Regions from separate parts of the Homo sapiens genome. Here region 2 is linked to region 1. The links are contacts of gene promoters, found by promoter capture Hi-C in human tissues and cell types (Jung and others, 2019). All regions are on one chromosome and are shown on one strand. Each heading gives the region's core, a stretch centred on a gene start or on the middle of the fragment in contact. The rest is flanking DNA. Distances are from core to core; before and after follow the strand shown.

The links. Contacts are between HindIII fragments. The study calls those that stand out against the background at their distance.
Region 2: a contact is called between the fragment with the promoter of CTSF here and the fragment with the promoter of LRFN4 in region 1, in 1 of the 25 tissues and cell types used here (dorsolateral prefrontal cortex).

The regions. Positions count from the first base shown.
Region 1 is chr11:66,855,814-66,862,825 of GRCh38, reverse strand. LRFN4 (leucine rich repeat and fibronectin type III domain containing 4) reads right to left here and starts at 5,762. Exons shown (of 2, transcript NM_024036.5): 1 at 3,733-5,762; 2 at 2,351-3,189. The coding sequence starts at 5,081. The coding sequence ends at 2,631. The region is part of intron 12 of PC (pyruvate carboxylase); the gene reads left to right. RefSeq lists silencers at 5,877-5,986, 6,147-6,676. The HindIII fragment of the contact is 20,544 bases long and covers 1-7,012 here.
Region 2 is chr11:66,567,356-66,574,367 of GRCh38, reverse strand. It overlaps CTSF (cathepsin F), which reads left to right and starts at 5,762. Exons shown (of 13, transcript NM_003793.4): 1 at 5,762-6,094; 2 at 6,286-6,384; 3 at 6,706-6,924. The coding sequence starts at 5,882. RefSeq lists enhancers at 1-644, 645-1,396 and silencers at 3,976-4,270, 5,644-5,713. The HindIII fragment of the contact is 11,953 bases long and covers 1-7,012 here.

The sequences.
Region 1 (7,012 bases), core at 4,513-7,012:
CGGCTTGTCTTTGGGTGGCCTTGGTGGGTGCCCTGCCTGGCATGAGGACTCTAAATGGGTATTTAGGATCTAAAGAGCCCTTTGCTGGGCTCTGTTACTGGCGTCTGTAGCTAGAGAGGAATCCACAGCCAGGAAATGCCGCCTCGGCCTTTGAAGCCAGCACGTGTCCCGTGGGAGCCACCCTCAGAATGGCAAGAAGAGCCGGAGGACAGGGGCTTTGGCCCTCAGCCCCTGTGGGAGTTACCACCCCATCTTCTTCTTGGGGGTCCCCACAGGGCGGGCTGTGCTGGGCACTGGCACCGGCCCCTCTGCCTTGGCCTCGTGTCCTCCTTGCAGCTTCTTCCAGCCCTGCCTGTCATCGAGGCGCAGTTGCTTGGGGGATGGGGGGGCATGTGGGCCGTGCTGTCCCCTCAGGGTCCTGCAATCACTTCTCACATGTCCACATGGCTGCTTGGTCGCAAGAGCCCCTGGAGGCTTCTGGGCCTATGCCTGTGTGTGTGGCCAGCCTGTCTCCCACCTTAAGAGGGAACAGCGCACTTCCTAGAGGCCAGGGGGTGTTACTCTTCCGTGGGGAGCCTCTCAGCCTCCCTGTTGGGGGTCCCTGTCGTGCACATAGGCAGAGGTGTGTCGCGACATCAGCTGTCGACATCACGCGCTCCCCCTGCACCTTGCTGCGGCTCCTGGTGTCCTGGCGGGGATGTCCTGCGGCTGCTTCGGTGTTGAGGGGATGCGTGGCCATGCACAGGGGTGACCCAGGCCATCCCCCTCGCCTGCCCCTGCCCGTTGCTCTGTGGTCCTGGCTGGCTCCTGGGGTTGTGCCCGGTTCCTCTGCTCCCTCCTCACCCTCAGCAGCTCCCCACGTGCCAAGCTGGTCCCTGGGCCCTAGAACCTTGCGCCTGCTAGGGGTGCAGCTAGAGGTGGGCTTCTGCACCCTGGAGGGCCCGGAAAGATCTTCCTCTTTAGACCGTCCCCCGCCCCCCAGGTGGAGAAAGGGGCACTAGAGACCGTGACCACGGGGCCAGCAGCAGGATAAGTGTCTCTGGTGTCTGGGGGTGCCAAGTCCTCCCCAAATGTGCACCAAGACCAGGCCGCTGGCTCTAGCCGCCTCCTGAGCCTCATGCTAGCGCCCAGCGTGGCAGCCCTGGCCCTCCTGTCCCTTTGCCGTCTGTGCCCACCCACCCTGTCCCGCGCCCCCGCCCACTCCTCCATGGCGTTCGCTCCCCACACCCTTCTCTGTCGAGGACCTTGCTCCCATTCATCTAAACCAGGCTCTCGAAGCCCACCTCTAGCTGCATGTTCTGGGGCTGGGAGGGCAGGCACACGCGTGTGAGCCAGGTCCATGCACACGTGAACACACGTATGCCTTAGAGCACCTGCCTCACCTCGGCTGCCCGGTGGCAGCGCCTTGGCCCTCACACAGAAAACACCAGGGAGTCTGTGCAGCGTGTTTGCCGTGGCCTGGGGTGCCAGGGCCGCCTTCTGAGTTTTCATACAGCACCTGGGGGAGCTTGACCCTCTGCAGGGCTGAGGGCCACGTCTGCCCATGCCCCCCAGCCAGTGCCTAGAAGCAGATAGTTCAGGAGGCTGCAGGGGCTGGGCCAGGTCGGAGGCTGCCCGGGCCTGGCCAGGGGTCCTAGCAGAGAAAGCAGGGCTCGTGCCCATCCGGCTGCCTCCCTGCAGCGAGGGAGGGCGAAGGCCGCCTTCCCAGGAAGGCCCAGAGCACATCTGAGCTGGCAGCTGCGGTCCTGCTCGGACCCACAGTTCTGACAGGAACCTTCCAGAGGATCACGGGCTGATGGCAGAGCAGTGGGGTTCCCTGCCCTTCCAGTCCCTTTGGGATGGCGTTTTACCAGTCCACAAGATGCCCTGGGAGGTGGCAGACACAGCTGTCAGCACCTGGAGCCATGAGGACTTTTCACTGTACGCTCAGCCCAGGTCCGTTCTCCCAGAGGGCTGTACCGTCCCCCACCTCCTCCTGTTGCTTAGTCCAGTCCTGTGTCCGCCCCGCAGACCCTGAAGTGCCATGGGGAAGGCGCTCACACGTGCTCCCCAGGCTTTACACTGGATACGGCGTCCTGTCGCCACCTGGCAGGAAGGGGCGTTCTTTGCACTTACAGGCGAGGGTAGGCCGCCTGCCCAAGCCCATGCTCTTGCAGGTCAGAAGACACCAGGCACAGCCCTTGGCCGCAGCCCTGGGCCGCCCCTGTGGACAGGAAGCCAGGAGGCCCCAGGCTGCTGTGACTGCCCCCACCGGCCCTGGTAGCCCCACCCTTGTCCGTGTGCCACCAGCGGCCCGTGTCCTGTCCTCCCGTCTCGGGGGACCTAGCCAGACAACACCAGAGACTAGCACTGAGGTGTCCCCAACAATTTTATTATAAATAAAAACAAGACTCCCAGTGGGTGGCTGCAGCCCCTGCCTCGGTGGCTGTGAGCACCTGTTGGAGGGGCCTGCCCTTACCCTGGTCTGGAGGCCAGAACCGAGGAAAGGGCTCCCTGCCCCTCCAAGTACACAGGGGAGCCTGAGGTACTGAGAATAAAAACCAGGGAGGGACTCCCAGGCCAGGCGGCGGCCCCGGGCCCTCTGCCCCACGAGGCTCATCCCTTGGAGCACACAGGAAGCTGCCCGTCCATCACACCACACTCTCTTCCAGCCGCTCGGCGCTGCCTCCTACCCCCCGGCACCCTGCCCCGAGCAGCCCCCCATGCACAGAGTGGCTCCGTCGGGCCCAAGCTCCTCCCAGGCGCCTGGCATAACCGTAGCACCCGGCATCTCCCAGGTCCAGAGAGCAGCTGCGCTGCGGCCGGGGCGGGGGGCTCCGCGGCGGGTGGGCCTTGGGTGTGGGGCTGGGGCCTCCATTGGTCTGGGACTGGACGTGGCTGAGCTTGAGGGGGAGGCGGCCATTTCCGGCCCCCCGGCCCCGAACCAGCAAGGCCACAGTGAAGACCAGTAAGGCAGCCACCAGCACACCCCCCACGGCCACGGTCAGGGTCCCGCCCAGCACGTGGGCCTGCAGGGCGTGGCACAGGGGCGAGGCCGGCAGCGTGGAGAAATGGGCACAGCCCAGCAGCCTGGTGGCCGTGAGGTCAGAGGGCCCAGCGGCCGGTGACAAGGCCAGCAGGCAGAGGTCATAGTCAGCGCCGGGGACGAGGTGCTTCAGCAGGAAGTGGTGGCTGGAGGCTGGGACAATCCTGCAGGCAAGGGCAGGTGGTCAGAGCCCGGGGCTGGGGTCTAGCCCCATCCTCACCTCCCCACTCCCGTGCTCCCAGCTCCAAACACCCCTCCCCCTGGGGCCACTCGGGCTCTTGGGTTCACTCAGGAAGGTGAACAGGCTGGAGAGTGTGGCCAGGAGATGGGTGTGTGCACTGGCACAGGACGCAGGCAAGCGAGGGGAATGGGGTGGGGGGATGGCACCAGCAGAGGCAGAAATAACACGCGGGCGCGGGCCATGTGCTTCAGACAGACCCAACCGCCACCTGCTGCCGGGGAGGCCTGCACAGCTCAGTGACACCTGGGACATCTCGGGGTGGGGTCCTTCTGCCGCCCCTTGAGCTCCAGCCCCCTCAGGCAGCCAGGCCAGGCCAGGCCACTGCTCCTCCAAGAGTCCAGCAGCCATGGTCGGGGAGGGGGTGTCAGCCCCAGAGAGAGGAGGGGTGGAAGCAAAGCCTTGTGGGGAGCAGAGGGCGGAGGAAGGGCGCCGGGAGTGCAGCCGGGTGTGGGGCACGCATCCTCACCGGTAGATGAGGGTCTCATCTTCGCTGCTGTTGTACTGGATTTGGAACATCCACACTGGGTCGGCTGGCCGCCCGGGACCCCAGCTCACCAGCCCTGAGGTGGCGGTCACCTCCGTCACCTGCACGGCTGGCTCAGACTCCAGCGTCCCCTCACCCTCGGCAGCAGTGCGAGCGGAGGCGGCGATGTCCGAGGGCCCGGGGCGGCCCCCCTCGGCACTGCTGTTCCCACCATGGGGCAAGGCCAGCACCCGCAGTTCTACTCGGGCTGTGGCCTCACCAGCAGGGTTGGTGGCGATGCAGGTGTAGCCCCCAGCGTCCCCAGCGCCGGTCACCCCAATCTCTAAGGTCCCGTTGGGGAAAGCCCGGGCTCGGGAGGAGTTGCCAACCAACCGGTCGTCAGGACCGACCCAGTGCATGGTAGGCGCGGGGTCACCCAGGGCCCGGCACCGCAGCGTGGCCCGCTGGCCTTCCAGCACCCAGAGGCGCTGCGTGTGGCGGGCAATGAGGGGCGGCTCACAGGAGAACTCGCCCTCGGGCACTGCCCAGAAGTAGCGGCCGGCCAGGCCGGGCGGGGAGGCGCACGTTTCCAGGTCGTCCGGCCGCGCCAGCCGCCGCAGCCACAGCAGCTCACAGTTGCAGTGCAGGGGGTTCCCGCTAAAGCTCAGCACCAGGGGGGCGGGAGAGGCCTCTGCATCACGCCCACGAGAGAAAAGCGGGTCCGGAGCCAGCGTGGCCAGGCGGTTGGAGGTGAGGTCCAGGCGGGAGAGCTGACCGAGCTGGGCGAAGGCGCCTGGGGGCAGTGCGTCAATAAGGTTATGGTCCAGGTTGAGGGTGTGCAGGGCAGGCATGGCGCCGATGCCGGCCCAGGGCACCTGCCGGAGGTTGTTGTAGGACAGGTCCAGGTCCTCCAGGCTCTCTAGGAAGTCGTCGAAGGCTCCCGGCGCGATGCGGCCCAGCTGGTTGCCGCTGAGGATGAGGTGCTGCAGATTGACGGGGCCCCGGAGGCTCCCGGTGCCCAGCTCCACCAGCCTGTTGCCGTCAAGGTGGAGGGAACGCAGGCTCTCGAGGTCCCCAAAGGCGCGGGCCCCAATGCGGGTGATGGCATTGCGAGACAGTGTCAGGTCCACCAGTCCCGTCATGTTGCGGAAGTCAGGGGGCCCCAGGGCCTGGATGAAGTTGTCAGCCAGCCGCAGCTCCACTGTGCGCCGGTCCACGTTGGGCGGCACAAACAGCAGGCCTCGGTGGGCACAGAGGGTGCTGAGCGACTCGGACAGGTTCTGGCAGACGCAGGGCAGCGGGCAGGCGGCCGCTCCACTGGCCAGCAGCAGCAGCAGGAGCGGCGGGGCCATGGTGAGCGCCCTGTAGGAAGGGGCCACAGCCCAGGCACAGGTGGGGCTGGCGCAGGTGCCCACTTGGGCCCAGGACAGTCCCAGAAGCCAGCTTCTGTGAGCCTGGCCCGGGGAGGGGCTGGGTCAGAGGCCCAAGAGGGCCGCCAGAGATGAGGGAAGGTTGGGGCCTGCAGGGCCAGGCCCCCCAGAGCAAAGGTCACATTTCCCAAGCAGTTAAGGGGGAGTCCAGGCGCTGGGGACAAGGTGAGGCATGAGGCAGGAAGCGGAGGAGGACCGAGAGCAGGGAGGGTCCCGGAACTTCCTTTCCCAGGCGTCCCCAGGAATCGCCAGCCGCCTCCCCACTCCCCGCCATACCCTCCCCCGCCAGAGAAGGCGCCCCCCGAACCTCCCGTGGAGTCCGTGGCCCCTCCCTGGCCGGCCCCCGCGCTGCGCCCGGCGGCCCCCTCACCTGGTGTCCGTCGCTCAGGGGGCGCGGGCCGGCCTCCCTGCGAGCCCGGCCGGCCCCCGCCGACTCCTGGCCGCTCTCCCGCGGGGACGAGGCCCGGGGATGACCGGCCGCCCGCCGCCCACCCTCGGGCCCATGGCGCTCGGGCCCGCGGCCCCGGCTCGCTCGGTTCCCGGCACCTTTTCCCGGCGCGGTTAGCGGTGGCGGCGGCGACAGGCGAGCGGGTGCGCGCCGGCGGGCGCGCGCGCCGCGGACACGCACGTGGAGGGCGGACGGGGAGGGGCGCGCGGGGATCCACCCGGGCCCGGGCCGGCTCCTGAGGTCACGGGGACACGCGGCCGCTGCAGCGCCCACGGGTGGCGCCCAGTCACGCCCGAGGCCCGGGCCGGCGCGGGCCCTCCGCGCTGTCCCCCGGCGCTGCCGCAGCGCACTCACCCTGGCACAGGCGCGCGCGCCCCCGGCCATCCTGGCGCCCCGGCATCCTGCACCGCACGGGCGCCCGCCGCCGCGGCGCGAACCTCACTCTGCAGACAGCCAGACAAAGCGCCTGCTCGCGGGCCCCTTCACCATCTCCCGGAGACGGGCGTCTTTGTCACATGTCGCTGGGCACCCTCCCCAACACACCCACACATGCCCACACACCCACACGTCCCTGCACCCACGGGCAGGGCCGAGCGCAAACCCGCACTGTTGCTGGGACCCTTGCGTTCACAGACACACGCTGAAGGTCATAACCGTTCTGCATCACCGAGTCACGTGGAGGGTCCCCAACCGGCACGGGGTTCGGCCGTGGGGGGGGCTGGGGCGGCGCCCCTGGCAGGGCTGCTGCGGGGTGGGGCCGAGAGGGCTTGGCCTCCGGGCAGGCGCCCCGCCCCCGCCGCCCCGCCCTGTCCCCAGCTGCCTCTCGCCTCTCCCTCCCTCCCCAGCTGCCCCGCCCGCCCCGCGGGCCAGGCGTTCCGGAGCCAACCGGCCTCCGCCTCGGGCCGGATTGGTCTGCGCGGCGCGGCTTCCCAACCGCCGGGGGCACGCATTGGGAAGCTGTGCGTCCTCGCAGCGCCTGCGGCCCCTCCCTCCCGCTCTGTCGCCGCCGGGCCATTTCCCTGGAAGAGCGGCTCGGAACCAGCTCCTCTCAGAGAAAGGGCTCCCGGCGTGAGGTGGGGGAGGTTCTTTGCTTCCTGGTTGAGAAAGCTGGGGCTTCGGTGGCTCGGCGAGCCTGGTTTCCTTCCAGCTGTGCCCGCCACCACCAGTGGTCTGCCCAGTTGGGAAACAGGAAGTCACCACCTCCCCGTGTCTCCTGGTCCTTAAGCCACCTAAACCTCAGCCATCCTCGTTCTCCCTCCAGCCCTGATCCCCATGGGCCAGGTGGCAGGAAACTCGGGGAAACCCAAGATTGGAATTCTGATCCTGTCAGCACAGCAGTGTAGTCCTGGGCACGTTACCTGACCACTGAAAACAAGTTCCTCCTGTAGGCCAGGAGAGTTGGATG
Region 2 (7,012 bases), core at 4,513-7,012, 290 kb after region 1:
TTCCCAGTCCGTGACCGGCGCCAGAGTTTTGGGTCCATGGATAAAATGTGTCTCCTTTGTCTCTACCAGAAAATAAAAGGAACTGAAATTAAGAGAAGGGAGAGATTGAAGAGTGGAAAGGAGAAAGTGGTTGAGGGATAGAGAGGTTGGAGAAGAGAGTAAGAAGAGGCTGCTTACCCGATTTAAAATTGGTGAGATGTTCTTTGGGCTGGTGGGTCTGAGGACCTGAGGTCGTAAGTGGATCTTTTTCACGGAGCAAAGAACAGGACAGGGGATTGATCTCCCAAGGGAGGTCCCCGATCTAAGTCACGGCACCAAATTTCATGCGCGTCCATGTGAAGAGACCACCAAACAGGCTTTGTGTGAGCAACATGGCTGTTTACTTCACCTGGGTGCACGCGGGCTGAGTCTGAAAAGAGAGTCAGAGAAGGGAGATAAGGGTGGGGCCGTTTTATAGGATTTGGGTAGATAAAGGAAAATTACAGTCAAAGGGGAGTTGTTCTCTGGCGGGCAGAGTGGGGGTTGCAAGATGCTCAGTGGGGGAGCTTTTTGAGCCAGGATGAGCCAGGAAAAGGACTTTCACAAGGTAATGTCATCAGTTAAGGCAAGGACTGGCCATTTTCACTTCTTTTGTGGTGGAATGTCATCAGTTAAGGCGGGGCAGGGCATATTCACTTCTTTTGTGATTCTTCAGTTATTTCAGGCCATCTGGGCGTATACGTGCAAATCACAGGGGATGTGATGGCTTGGCTTGGGCTCAGAGGCCTGACACAGACCTTTTTTTTTTTGAGACAGAGTCTTGCTCTGTCACCCAGGCTGGAGTGCAGTGGCACGATCTCAGCTCACTGCAAGCTCCGCCTTCTGGGTTCGTGCCATTCTCCTGCCTCAGCCTCCCGAGTAGGTGGGACTTCAGGTGCCCACCACCATGCCCAGCTAATTTTTTGTATTTTTAGTAGAGACGGGGTTTCACCTTGTTAGCCAGAATGGTCTCAATCTCCTGACCTTGTGATCCGCCCGCCTTGGCCTCCCAAAGTGCTGGGATTACAGGCATGAGCCACCCCGCCGGCGGACTGTAACATTATTATGCAGATGAAGCCTACAGGTAGCAAGCTTCAGAGATAATAGATTGTAAATGTTTCTTATCAAATTTAAAAAGATGCCAGAGGCCAGGCATGGTAGCTCATGCCTATAATTCCAGCACTTTGGGAGGCCGGAAAGCCGAAGTGGGTGGATCACCCGAGGTCAGGAGTTCAAAACCAGCCTGACCAACATGGTGAAACTCCATCTCTACTAAAAATACAAAAATTAGCTGGGTGTGCTGGCACATGCCTGTAATCCCAGCTACGAGGGAGGCTGAGGCAGGAACTACTAGGGAGACTGAGGCAGGAGAATCGCTTGAACCCAGGAGGCGGAGGTTGCAGTGAGCTGAGATGGCGCCATTGCACTCCAGCCTGGGCAACAAGAGTGAAACTCTGTCTCAAAAATAAATACATACGTACATACATACATACATATGTAAGATGCCAGATTCGGCTGGGCACAGTGGCTCCCACTTGTAATCCCAGCACTTTGGGAGGCTGAGGTAGGCAGATCACAGGGTTAGGAGTTTGAGACCAGCCTGGCCAACACAGTGAAACCCTGTCTTTACTGAAAATACAAAAAATTAGCCGGGCATGGTGGCAAGTGCCTGTAATCCCAGCTACTCAGGAGGCAGAGGCAGGACAATCGCTTGAACCCAGGAGGCGGAGGTTGCAGTAAGCTGAGATCACACAATTACACTCCAGCCTGGGTAACAGAGCAAGACTCTGTCTCAAAAAAAAAAAAAAAAAAAGCCAAATTCTTAGTGAAGTCTCTCCTGGATCAGGAAAAAGACCTAGAAATGGAAAGGGACTCTGGAGAATGTAGATTTTCCCCACAGGGACAGCTTTGCAGGGCCATTTCAAAGTATGTCAAATAAGTATATTTTAGGGTAAAATACATCAATATCTATCATGTGATACTAAAGTCAGGATAGTGTCTTTTTTTTTTGAGACAGAGTCTCACTCTGTCGCCCAAGCTGGAGTGCAGTGCTGCGATCCCAGCTTACTGCAACCTCCGCCTCCCAGATTCAAGCCTCAGCCTCCTGAATAGCTGGGGTTACAGGCACGCACCACCATGCCTCGCTAATTTTTGTATTTTATTTTATTTTATTTTTTTTTGTAGATGGAGTTTTGCTCTTGTCACCCAGGTTAGAGTGCAATGGCGCAATCTCGGCTCACTGTAACCTCCGCCTCCTGGGTTCAGGTGATTCTCCTGCCTCAGCCTCCTGAGTAGCTGGGACTACAGGCATGTACCACCATGACCCACTAATTTTTTTTTTTTTTTGAGATGGAGTCTCACTCTGTTGCTCAGGCTAGAGTGCAGTGGCGCAATCTCGGCTCACTGCAACCTTCCACGTCTTGGATTCAAGCAATTCTCCTGCCTCAGCCTCCTGAGTGTCTGGGATTACAGGCTTGTGCCACCACGCCCGGCCAATTTTTGTATTTTTATTAGAGACAGGGTTTCACCATGTTGGCCAGGCTGGTCTCGAACTCCTGACTTCAGGTGATCCGCCTGCCTTGGCCTCCCAAAGTGCTGGGATTACAGGCATGAGCCACCGCGCCCAGCCGAATTTGATGTCTTATTGCTACATTCTTGAATGTACTGCAAAAAAGTCTTAAGATCTCTGGCTTTTTTTTTTTTTTTTTTTTTGGAGACAGAGTCTTGCTCTGTCACCCAGGCTGGAGTGCAGTGGCGCAATCTCGGCTCATTGCAAGCTCCGCCTCCCAGGTTCACGCCATTCTCCTGCCTCAGCCTCCCGAGTAGCTGGGACTGCAGGCGCCTGCCACCACGCCCGGCTAATTTTTTGTATTTTTAGTAGAGATGGGGTTTTACCGTGTTAGCCAGGATGGTCTCCATCTCCTGGCCTCGTGATCCACCTGCCTCGGCCTCCCAAAGTGTTGGGATTACAGGCGTGAGCCACTGCGTCCGGCCCTTTTTTTTTGTTTTTTTTGAAACAGGGTCTTGCCCTGTCACTCACGCTGTAGTGCAGTGGCATAATTATGGTTCACTGCAACCTCAACCTCCTGTGATTAAGAGATCCTCTCACTTCAGACTCCCAAGTAGCTGAGACTATAGGCGCACACCGTTATGCCTGGCTAACGTTTGTATTTTCGTAGAAATGGGGTTTTGCCATGTTGCCCAGGCTGGTCTCAAACTCCTGGGTTCAAGTGATCTTCCCAACTCTGTCTCTCAAAGTGTTGGGATTATAGGCATGAGCCACCATGCCCAGCCTAAAATCTCTGTTGTAATGTTAATGCTGGTCAGTTGTGCCTCAATTCCAAAGGGAGGAGAGTATAATGAAACATGCCTAACTTCCACTTCCCATTATGGCCTGAACTATTATCATTGTTGAGGTTAACGTTGGAATGTCTTTGACTGGGAGGAAGGGTCCATTCAGATGGTTGGAGGGGATTAGAATTTTATTTTTAATTTACAGAGGGAAGAGCATAATCAAGGAAAGATTAGTATCTGCTGCAATCCCTCAGATCCTCTCCTCTCAGACCTCAGCTGGCAACTGGAAGCATTGAGATGGCTCCACTCTGGCTCCAGCACTAATGTCTGAGTAGCTGGAATGTCACTTTGTCTCTCTAGACCTCTGCTGCTGTAGCAATTCTGGTTTGAACTAGATGATCTTGTAATTCCCAGATGGGTTCTTCCTGCCTACTGCACAAACAAAATCAATTCAGAGACCATAGCATTGCAGAAAAGAACGAGTTTAACTGACACAAGACCTGCCATGCCACACAGGAGACAGGGTTATTACTCAATCAGTCTCACTGAAGGCTTGGAGGTCGGGGTTTTTCAAAGATAGTTTGGTAGGCAGGCGGCTAGGATATGGGTGCTACTGATTGCTTGGGAATGAAATCATAGTAGTGTGGAAAATGGCCCTCCTGCACTGAGTCTGCTTCTGGGTAGGGGTCACAGGACTGGTGGAGTCACACGTCAGTGTGGGGCCATTCCATAGTCACAAATGCAAAAGCCTGGAAGAGATAGCTCAAAAGATCAGTCTTACATTCCATGATAGTGATGTTAATTACAGGAGTAACTGGCAAAGTTGCAAATCTTGTGACTTCCAGAACAATGGCTGGTAATCCTTTAACTATGCCTACATCTTAGTAGAATTCAGGCCCCTCTCATCCTCCTAACTTGGTGGCCTTTCATTAGTTTTACAAGGGTGGTTTAGTTTTCAGGAAGGCGTATTCTAATTTAAAGTATAAGCTAAATTTATCCAAAAGTTACCTTGGCCCATGCCCAGGAATGAGTGAAGACAGCCAGCCTGTGAGGCTAGAAAGCAAGATGCAGTCAGCCATGTCAGATTTCTCTTACTGTCATAATTTTGCAAAGGCAGTTTCAATTTTTTTTTTTTTTTGAGATGGAGTCTCACTGTCTTACCAGGCTGGAGTGCAATGGTGCGCTCTCAGCTCACTGCAACCTCTGACTCCCTGGTTCAAGCGATTCTCCTGCCTCAGCCTCCTGAGTAGCTGGGATTACAGGCACGTGCCACCATGCCCAGCTAATTTTTTTGTATTTTTAGTAGAGACAGGGTTTCACCATGTTGTCCAGGATGGTCTCCATCTCCTGACCTCGTGATCCGCCCACCTTGGCCTCCCAAAGTGCTGGGATTACAGGCGTGAGCCACTGCGCCCGGCCTAAAAATATTTTTAGTAGTGACGGGGTTTCACCTCGTTGGCCAGACTGGTCTCGAACTCCTGAGCTCAGGTGATCTGCCCGCCTCGGCCTCCCAAAGTGCTGGGATTACAGGCGTGAGACACTGCACCCAGCCCATCTGTCGTTCTTCTCTCTAGACTGTGAGCTCCAAGAACGCAGCACTATTCCTGTAATGCATCTGTGCATGCTTTCCCTTGGTAGACCCTGGAACACAGCAGGTGAATGCTTCAAGGGACAGTCTCAACCCTGTGCACCCTGCCTTAGTGGCTACTGAATGCTTGCATGATTGCATTTGAACCTCACAACAGCCTGAGACGCTGCCAGCACTCAAAAAATTACCTGCCATCTCGCTGTTGAGAAGAGGGGCCTGAAAGAGGCGATCAAGCTGCAAACCCAGGCTCAGAAGCCAACTGCCTGGATTTAAGTTTAGCTCAATTCCTTACCAGATATTTGGCAAGCCACTTAATATTTCTCTCTCTCTCTTTTTTGAGACGGAGTTTTGCTCTTGTCGCCTGGGCTGGAGTGCAATGGCACGATCTGAGCTCACTGCAACCTCTGCCTCCTGGGTTCAAGTGATTCTCCTGGCTCAGCCTCCCAAGTAGCTGGGATTACAGGCGCCCACCACCACGCCCAGCTCTTTTTTGTATTTTTAGTAGACACAGGGTTTCACCACGTGTGCCAGACTGGTCTCAAACTCCTGACCTCAGGTGATCCACCCGCTTTGGCCTCCTAAAGTGCTGGGATTACAGGGCTGAGTCACAGAGCCCGGCCACGCCATTTAATCTCTCCAAGCCTCGTTTCCTCCACTGTACGATGGGGATAGCACCTACTTCAGAGATTGCTACGCCGAATAAAAGGAGCTGGCATATCATGCCTAACATATAACAAGCACGTGATAGAGGTCAGTGACTAGCTTTAGCCTCAGGCCAGCAGCCTCCCGCTCTCCCTACCCTGCGCGCCCCACGTGCCTCCTGTAAACAAGAGAACGCGCAGGCGCCGCAAACCAGCGCCCATTGGTCGGCGTGCCGTCGCCCCGCTGGAGGGAGGACTCAGGCCCCGCTGGCCGCGGGCTCGGTACCCGGTGGGTCGGTGGAGCGTCTGTTGGGTCCGGGCCGCCGGCTTCGCCCTCGCCATGGCGCCCTGGCTGCAGCTCCTGTCGCTGCTGGGGCTGCTCCCGGGCGCAGTGGCCGCCCCCGCCCAGCCCCGAGCCGCCAGCTTTCAGGCCTGGGGGCCGCCGTCCCCGGAGCTGCTGGCGCCCACCCGCTTCGCGCTGGAGATGTTCAACCGCGGCCGGGCTGCGGGGACGCGGGCCGTGCTGGGCCTTGTGCGCGGCCGCGTCCGCCGGGTGAGGACGCGCCGGGGGCGGGGGCGCCAGGCCCGGGTCCAAGGGATAGGAGCTTTGACCTAACATTGGGATGGGGCCTGCCCGCTGGACGAACCGATCTCTGGTGATGGGGAATGGGCAGCGCCGCACGGGCGGGGCCTTGGGCGCCGTCAAGGGCCGACTGTGCCCGCCTCACCTACTCCTCTCTCCAGGCGGGTCAGGGGTCGCTGTACTCCCTGGAGGCCACCCTGGAGGAGCCACCCTGCAACGACCCCATGGTGTGCCGGCTCCCCGTGTCCAAGAAAACCCTGGTGAGTGATGAGGCTCTTGGGGTTCCCCGCCCCGAGGCCGAGTAAAGCAGCAGTTGGATGATGACGGGTCAGGTCAAGACGCAGGGATCTGAGGTAGCTGCTGCCCCACCTTGAGCCACTTCCCAGGCCCCGAGGGCTGGAAACCAAGATGCTATGAAGGGGAGGATGCCCCGGTGCAGGCCGTGCCTCACTGTCCACTGTGATGGGGTGATTGCCTTAGGGGTGGCTCTCATCTGAGGAGCCTCCAGCTCCATCTTGGCCAGATCTTGCTCCCCAGATCCAGATCCAGGCCCCCAGAGCAGCTTCTTCCTCTCCCTCCAGCTCTGCAGCTTCCAAGTCCTGGATGAGCTCGGAAGACACGTGCTGCTGCGGAAGGACTGTGGCCCAGTGGACACCAAGGTTCCAGGTGCTGGGGAGCCCAAGTCAGCCTTCACTCAGGGCTCAGCCATGATTTCTTCTCTGTCCCAAAACCATCCAGACAACAGAAACGAGACTTTCAGCTCAGTCATTTCCCTGTTGAATGAGGATCCCCTGTCCCAGGTGAGGAGCCCTCAGCTTGAGGAGCCCTCAGCTTGAGGAGCCAGCCGCTGCCTCATCACCCTTCTCCCTTCCCTCTGGAGTGGGTTTC